2 separate regions of the Homo sapiens genome follow, and region 2 is linked to region 1. The links are contacts of gene promoters, found by promoter capture Hi-C in human tissues and cell types (Jung and others, 2019). All regions are on one chromosome and are shown on one strand. Each heading gives the region's core, a stretch centred on a gene start or on the middle of the fragment in contact. The rest is flanking DNA. Distances are from core to core; before and after follow the strand shown. Region 1 holds the start of SMG9 (SMG9 nonsense mediated mRNA decay factor). Region 2 has its middle 13 kb from the start of FOSB.

Region 1 (4,032 bases), core at 515-3,014:
GAGCTGAAGAAGTAAAATTGGACACTGATAGACATAATACAGAGATGGCCTGTCATGTGTATCTTTATCAAACACCCAGAATCTTTCCCCAGAATCCATCAACAGTGGACTCAAGTCATTCTGGGTGACTGGTGTTTCTACCTGTGGCAGCCTGGAGAGGTGGCTCCACCTGGTACTGGTACTGGGACAATGACAGTAGGGATGAGGCCTGGAGGGGAGAGGGCTGCTCAGAATCTACAACTATCAGCATGGTAGACCACAAAATAATACACAGAGACAACACACAGTACCATTAGGCAACAGGCACTGTTCTATGCACTCTCACCCATTTAATGCTGGCGGCAATGTTGTAAGTAAGGTTATACCACACCCAATTCACAAACAGGGACGTAGAAGTAGAGAGTATTAAGTCACTTGGTCAAGCTCAGCCGCTATTTATATGAACTCAACACATGCTCTTAACTCCAATGCTTTATTATAACAGCAGCTCCAGAAGGAAACCGGGAACCAGTGCTTTAGGAAAGGAAAATGGGAACCAGAGGTGGAAACTTACTTTTATTGTATACAGCCAGAGAGGTTTGAATTGTGTATGTACATGTAATACCTGTTCAAATATAATTTTAAAAAACTTTTTTTTAGACCAGCCACGGTGGCTCACGCCTGTCATCCTAGCACTTTAGGAGGCCGAGGCGGGCGGATCACTTGAGGTCAGGAGTTCGAGACCAGCCTGGCCAACATGGCAAAACCCAGTCTCTACTAAAAATACAAAAAATTAGCCAGGCGTGGTGGACGCCTGTAATCCCAGCTATTTGGGAGGCTGAGGCAGGAGAATCGCTTGAATTTCAGGAGGTGGAGACGGCAGTGATCCGAGATCTCGCCACTGCACGCCAGCCTGGGTGACAGGGCGAGACTCCGTCTCTAAATAAATAAATAAAATAAAAATAAATAAAATTTCAAATAAAAAGCTAGAACCTTCCCATCCACCCACTCTGCCCACTGGGGAACTGCCGACCCTTCCGAATGCGCATGCGCTCTCCAGGCCGCGCCCGTCGCCCAATGTTCCTCTTTGGCGCGCGCAAGACTCCGCCCACGTGTGTTTAAATTTTCGACCCTGGAGCGGATTCCCTTCTCCAACGCGGCCTTCGAGGGTTTTAAACATAGTTCTGTCTCAGACTATTCTGCATCTCCCAGGCCTTAAGGATAAAACTGACACTGGAGACCCTTCAGGGTCTGACCTGCCCATTCTGCTGCCTCACCTCCCACCCAGGTGGACCCTGAATCCAAGCCAGTCTAGACCTCTTCCCCCGGGGTCTTCGCCGCCTTTGCTTAGCTGTTCCCTGGAGTACCCTCGCCTGCCTGTCCTTCAAGGTCCAACCGGACCCGCGCCCTTTCCTAAGTGATTTGAGGCCCTGGCAGTCTCTCCACAGGCCGGGGTGTCTTCCAGGGCGCACGCCAAGTCTGATTCATTCATGTGTTCTTGGCACTCAGCCCAGAACAGTGAAATTCCTCCCTGTCGTCCCACCCCACTGCATCCCGCCAACATCACCGAAGAGGCACAACTCGAACCCCAGATCCGGGCCGCTCTCCCTCCTGCCGGCTCCTCGGCGTATCCATTTCCCTACTCATCTCCCCACCCTCAACCCCCCAACCGCGCGCACGCGCATTGAGTCAGAGCCGCGGCGTCCTCCCGCCTCCCGCTCCGGAACCCGCATGCGTGCTGAAGCCGACCGCCTCCATCCACGCACGCTCAGCCCGGCGAGCGCATTCAGTTCTCGAGCTCCAGCCCTCAGCGCATGCGCAGGACGAGTCGCCTGAGGGAACTGATCTCAGCTCGGGCCCGCGTTACATCCTCCTCCTCTTCTTCCTTCGGCCCAGCTTTCCTTAGGGGCTGCAACCCGGACGCCGAGGCCGGTTTCGGAGTGGGGAGTGCCCATTTTCTCTCCTTCCCACGTTCCTGGCCCCCAGACGCCATTTGCAGGCGGGTGGCTTGGGTCAGCCTCCCCGCCCCCACCCGACTCCCGTCACGGGAGAGCGCACACCGCGCCCCGAGAACCAATCAGCAGCCGCGTTAGGTAAGGGGGCCGCGAGCCCGCGCGAGGCTAGCGCACCGGCGGCGGGCGGGGCGCTCCGGCAGGCCCCGCCCCCGCCTTGGCCATTGAAAGGTCGCTGGGACGTCCGGCGGGGGTGCGGCACTGAGTAGGGGGCCGGCGACCGTCAATTCGATACTGGGTTGGCAGGAATGGGGGCGGGGGACGGAAATAACGTGTAAATGAGAAACTTATGCTCTGCGAGATCCAAGTACAGCCTGCAAACTGCCCGTCAAGTACTGGGGAGGCCGCCCCAATAACGTGTAACGAGAAACTTGAGTTGGGTTCCCCGAGGGAAGCTTTGTAAAGCAATGCCTAAATCCGGGGGAGGCTCCCTTCTAGAACCCCGTAGAGAGAAGTTTAAATCCTAGGGAGTCCTTAGGAAAATGTGCAAATCGACTACAGTTCTGGGCTGGGGAGTGCCCCACGAAGTGGGCTTACATACTCAGGAATCGGGAGAGTCTCCCCAAATATTTGCAAATAGTGAGGTTCTGGGAGATCCCCGAAGGGAGTGTGTGAAGCGATGCCTAAATACTGAGGAGACACTCCCCAAAAATATGTAAATTCGATTTGTTAATTTTCGGGAAGTCACCCTAGAAGTCCATCAGCAGACACTTAAATAGACCAGCTTTCCTAAGTTTGGGGGTAATCCCCAAAGGAGCCCGGAAACAGCATTGGAAGTCCCCAGCTTGCATGTGGGTGGGGTTTTTTTTTTTTTTCTTTGAGACAAGAGTCTCGCTCTGTCGCCCAGGCTGGAGTGCAGTGGCACGATCTCGGCTCACTGTATCCTCCACACCTGGTTTAGGTGGGCTTTTAAGTTCCAAGGAACTCCCCACATTCAGATACTGTGGAAGCTCCCAGAATAAAGGGCACAGGGAGGCCAGGTGCGGTGGCTTACCCGGGGAATCCGATCACTTTGGGAGACCGAGGCTGGCGAATCACTTGAGGCCAGGAGTTCGATACCAGCCTGGCCAACATGGCGAAACCCCGTCTCTACTGAAAATGCAAAACTTAGCCCGGCCTGGTGGTATGCACCTGTAATCCCACCTACTTGGGAGGCTGAGGCAGGAGAATTGCCTGAACCCGGGAGGCAGAGGCCGCAGCCAGCTGAGATCGTGCCACTGCACTCCAGCCTGGGCAACAGAGCAAGACCGTCTCAAAAAAAAAAAAAAAAAAAAAAGAAAAGCATTCACACAGGGGCGCTTACTTTGCACAGGAAAGGGCATCCTCATAGGCCAGTAAACAGAAACCTCAGGGCTGGGCAGTATCCCAATTGAGGCATGAAGACAAGTACTTAAGCACTGGGTAGATTTCAGAATAATGTGTAAAGACACTTAATTGCAAGTGAGGGAGGAGTCTCAGATTCTGGGGAGAATCTCCATCCCAGACTAAGCAGTCATTTCGGTATGGAATGAGTCATTTTCCCTAAGCAGCTGTAAACAGGCCCTTGTCCTCCTCTGTCTAGGAAAGCAGTCTTCAGCCTGGCTTGTGGCTCTGGGAGAGGTCATGTAGCACAGTAGGAGAGGAGCTAGACAAGCCACTTGTCTGGCTAGCAAAATTATGACTGCATCTTGTAAACAGACCCTTCCATTCTGGAGAGTCTCGGAGGGACCTGTTTATGTCATTATGAGGTGGGGCAGGGGAGGATTCATGGAGGGATTTAACAGATACTTCCAAGCTAAGCAAGGGTCAGCAAACTGTTTTTTTGAGACAGGGTTCTGCTTTTTTTTTTTTTTAGACAGGGTCTTGCTTTGTTACCCAGGCTAGAGTGCAGTGGTGCAGCATGATCATGGCAGCCTTGACCTCCCAGGCTCAAGTGATCCCACCACCTCAGCCTCCCAAGTAGCTGGGACTACAGGTGCATGTCACCACGCCCAGCTACTTTTTTCTTTTTTAAATGTTATATAGAGACAGGATCTTGCTATGTTGCCCAAGCTGGTCTCGA
Region 2 (4,032 bases), core at 748-3,247, 1.7 Mb before region 1:
AATACAGATGCAGTTGACTCTCTTTTTTCTTCTTCTTTTTTTTTTTTTTTTTTTTTTTTTGAGACAAGGTCTTATTCTGTCACCCAGGCTGGAGTGCAGTGGCACAATCTCAGCTTACTGCAACTTCCATCTCCCAGGTTCAAGTGATCCTCCCACCTCAGCATCCTGAGTAGCTGGGACTACAGGCATGAGCCACCATGCTTAGCTAATTTTTTGATTTTTTGGTAGAGATGGCATCTCACTATGTTTCCCAGGCTGGTCTCGAACTCTTGGGCTCCGGCGATCCACCCACCTTGGCCTCCCAAAATGTCGGGATTACAGGCGTGCCAGCCACCAAAAAAGCGAGAGGATAGCCTGAGCTCAGGAGTTCAAGACCAGCCTGGGAAACATAGTGAGACGTCATCTCCATTATTTAAAAAAAAAAAATGTAGAATGCCTAGAACAGCACCTGGCAGAAAGTATGTTCCCCGTAAGCATAGCTATTACAATAATAGTGATTTTTTTTTTTTTTTTTTTTTGCTATAGGATCTTGTTCTGTTGTCTAGGCTGGAGTACAGTGGTGCAATCAATAGCTCACTGCAGTCTCAAACTCCAACACTCCAGCAATCCACCCTCCACAGCCTCCTGAGTACCTGGGACTACAGGTGCACACCACCACATCCAGCTAATTTTTAAATTTTTTCTTTGTAGAGAAGGGGTCTTGCTATGATGTCCAGGCTGGTCTTGAACTTCTGGCCTCCAAGGGATCCGCCTACCTCTGCCTCACGAGTCACTGTGCCTGGCCTAATAATGCTTGTTAATACCCCCACTCAACAGATGAGGAAACTGTCCCTTAGGCCTCAGTCCCTTAGGGAACTTGCAGGCTTATGGGTAGTGAGGCCCCGCTGGCCTGGGGTGGGTGGAGTCAGGGCCTCCCCAGGCCGGGTGTTGAGTGTGCGTGTGTGCCTTTGCGTGTGTAAGCACATTGGTGATTCCATTGTCCTCCTGACTGACTCTTACGACCAAGTCTCTTACGATTTGGTGATTCTCTGCGCAAACACTCAGACCCCATCCCACCCCTGTGGGTCGCCCAGCCGCTGCCCACAAGCCGCAGCCTCCCCGTCACACCCACACGTGCTTCCTCCTCACCCGCCAGGGCCTCCCCACAGGCTCTCCTTCCCAAACTTTCTCCTTCCTGCCCCACATGGACGCCTGTGGCTGGGTGGTCTCTGGCTGTAGCCACCCTGTCCCTGACTCAGGCCCCATGCCCCCTCACTGACCCCTGTGTGCCCGGCCCAACCCCCGCAGCCAGACGGCCACTCGGGGGTGTTGCGGGGGGTCACAGCAGGCCACGTGCCCGGGGTGGCTGAATTCCGCCTGTGATTCAGTCAGCTTGTCTAGGCTGCCGGGGGTGCCCTGGCCGGGTGATGTCAGCGGCCAGGTATGTGGCTGGGGTTTCTCCCAGGGTGACTCAGGCTCCTGAACTACCCTCTCCCTCCTGCAGACACTCTGGGCTGCTGTCCAGGGCAGGCAGCCGGCTGGCTGCCTGACACTCCCTTCCCTGGCCCCCTCCACGCCCTCTTCAGCACAGAGCTGTGGGAACAGCAGGGCTGGGGGACTGGCACAAGAGGGATCCCAGAGGCCAGGGCCCCAGCCCAGCCTTCCCCTAAGACCAGGACTCACAAGTGGTTGTAGGATGACATTCATTCGTTCATTCAATCAGCCATTCAAATATTTAATCAGCACACCTACACACACACACACACACACACACACACACACACACACACTGCAGTCACACACTCTAGGTGCTGGGGACAGAGCAGGAAACAAGACAGACAAAAATAAAAATTTCCTCAAATGGCCAGACATGGTGGCTCACTCCTGTAAACCCAGCACTTTGGGAAGCCAAGGCAGGAGGATTGCTTGAGCCCAGAAGTTTGAGACCAGCCTGGGCAACAGAGTGAGACCCCATCTCTACAAAAAAATAAGCCTGTAGCCCCAGCTACTCAGGAGGCTGAGGCAAGAGGATCACTTAAGCCCAGGAGGTCAAGGCTGCAGTGGGTTGTCATCATGCCACTGTGCTCCAGCCTGTATGACAGAGCCAGAGCCAGACCCTATCTAAAAAAAAAAAAAAAATTAGCTGGGCGTAGTGGTGGGCACCTGTTATCCCAGCCACTTGGGAGCCTGAGGCAGGAGAATCGCTTGAACCCGGGAGGCGGAGGTTGCAGTGAGCCGAGATCGTGCCACTGCACTCCAGCCAGGAAAGAGAGTGAGACTCTGTCTCAAAAAAAAAAGAAAAAAGAAAGAAAGAAAATTCCTCACAAAGCCTTTATCAGTATCTGCACCTAGTGCATTATTATTATTATTATTATTGTTTTTGACACAAAGTCTCACTCTGTCGCCCAGGCTGGAGTGCAGTGGCATGATCTCGGTTCACTGCAACCCACACCTCCCGGGTTCAAGTTATTCTCCTGCCTCAACCTCCCGAGTAGCTGGAATTACAGGCACACACCACCAAGCCTGGTTAATTTTTTTTGTATTTTTAGTAAAGACAGGGTTTTGCCATGCTGGCCAGGCTGGTCTCGAACTCCAGACCTCAGGTGATCCACCCTTCTCGGCCTCCCAAAGTGCTGGGATTACAGGTGTGAGCCACCGTGCCTGGCCTATTGTTATTGCTATTATTGCCCCCCTCCAAATTCCACTAGCCTGTGAAACTCAGGCTGGTTTCTCTTCCTCCAGGCAGCTCTCCAAACAGCTCATGTTTTTCTTTCTTTTTTTTTTTTTGAGAGGGAGTCTTGCTCTGTCACCAGGCTGGAGTGCAGTGGCGCAATTTCGGCTCACTGCAACCCCCGCCTCCCGAGTTCAAGTGATTCTCCTGCCTCTGCCTCCTGAGTATCTGGGACTACAGGCACGCGCCACCACGCCCACCTAATTTTTGTATTTTTAGTAGAGATGGGGTTTCACCAGGTTGACCAGGATGATCTTGATCTCTTGACCTTGCGATCTGCCTGCCTCGGCCTCCCAAAGTGCTGGGATTACAGGTGTAGGCCACCAGGCCCAGCAAAACAGTTCATTTCTTATAGTTCCCAGCCCCAAAATAGTCCTAGGAGGAAGTCCTTTCTGGAGTCTGACCCTCAGTCTGCCTGCTTCAAATGCGCTCTTTCATCCCTCTTTCACTTCCCACTTTCCCAGTCCCATGGAGTGATTTGAACCTCAATTCCATCCCGTCCCAACTTCACCCTTCATTTACCTTTCCTGAAACCAGACCACGGCTGGGCCTTGTAGCCATTGGGGTGTTCCAGATGCAGCTTCATTGAGTCCCAACTGGCCCTGGAGAAGGTCTGGAACATGCCCATGGTATAGGAAGGAAAGTGAGACTCAGGGCATTTGGGTACCCAGTAACACAGGACTACAGAGCTAAAGCCTGCATCTGCAACCCAGATTCTAGACACGCACACGCACATCCAAGGACACACACAGAGGAAGTAATAATACTGACAACAATCAAAACAGGTATTTTGTAAATGTTTGTTTTCTGCCAGGCATTTTCTAAATGCTTTCCATATGAACTCATTTACTCTCCCACAACAGTCCCATAAACTGGGTCTATTATTCTCCCTATTTGACAGATGAGGAAACCGAGTGCATAGAGGTCCTAATGCTAGCAGGAGGAAGGCCACACAGTTCGGCCGGACGCGGTGGCTCACGCCTGTAATCCCAGCACTTTGAGAGGCTGAGGCAGGTGGATCACTTGAGGTCAGGAGTTTGAGATCAGCCTGGCCAACATGGTGAAACCTCGTCTCTGCTAAAAATACACAAAAATTAGCTGGGCGTGGTGCAGGCACTTGTAATCCCAGCTACTTGGGAGGCTGAGGCAGGAGAATTCGGGAGGCAGAGGTTGCAGTGAGACGGAATCACACGTCTGCACTCCAGCCTGGGTGACAGAGTGAGACTCTGTCTCAAAAAAAAAAAAAAAAAAAAAGACAACAGAGTTCAAATCCATAGTTTTTAGGGGTTTTTTAAATTTTTGTTTTTGTTTTTTGTTTTTCT

The links. Contacts are between HindIII fragments. The study calls those that stand out against the background at their distance.
Region 2: a fragment that was not itself captured here is called in contact with the fragment with the promoter of SMG9 in region 1 in 1 of the 25 tissues and cell types used here (pancreas).

The regions. Positions count from the first base shown.
Region 1 is chr19:43,752,694-43,756,725 of GRCh38, reverse strand. SMG9 (SMG9 nonsense mediated mRNA decay factor) reads left to right here and starts at 1,764. Exons shown (of 14, transcript NM_019108.4): 1 at 1,764-2,072. RefSeq lists a silencer at 1,984-2,343 and an enhancer at 2,574-2,833. The HindIII fragment of the contact is 11,288 bases long and covers 1-4,032 here.
Region 2 is chr19:45,453,315-45,457,346 of GRCh38, reverse strand. No RefSeq gene overlaps it. Among named protein-coding and RNA genes, the nearest start is that of FOSB, 13 kb to the left of the region's middle. RefSeq lists enhancers at 566-1,532, 1,521-1,770, 1,533-2,499, 2,807-2,866. The HindIII fragment of the contact is 7,912 bases long and covers 1-4,032 here.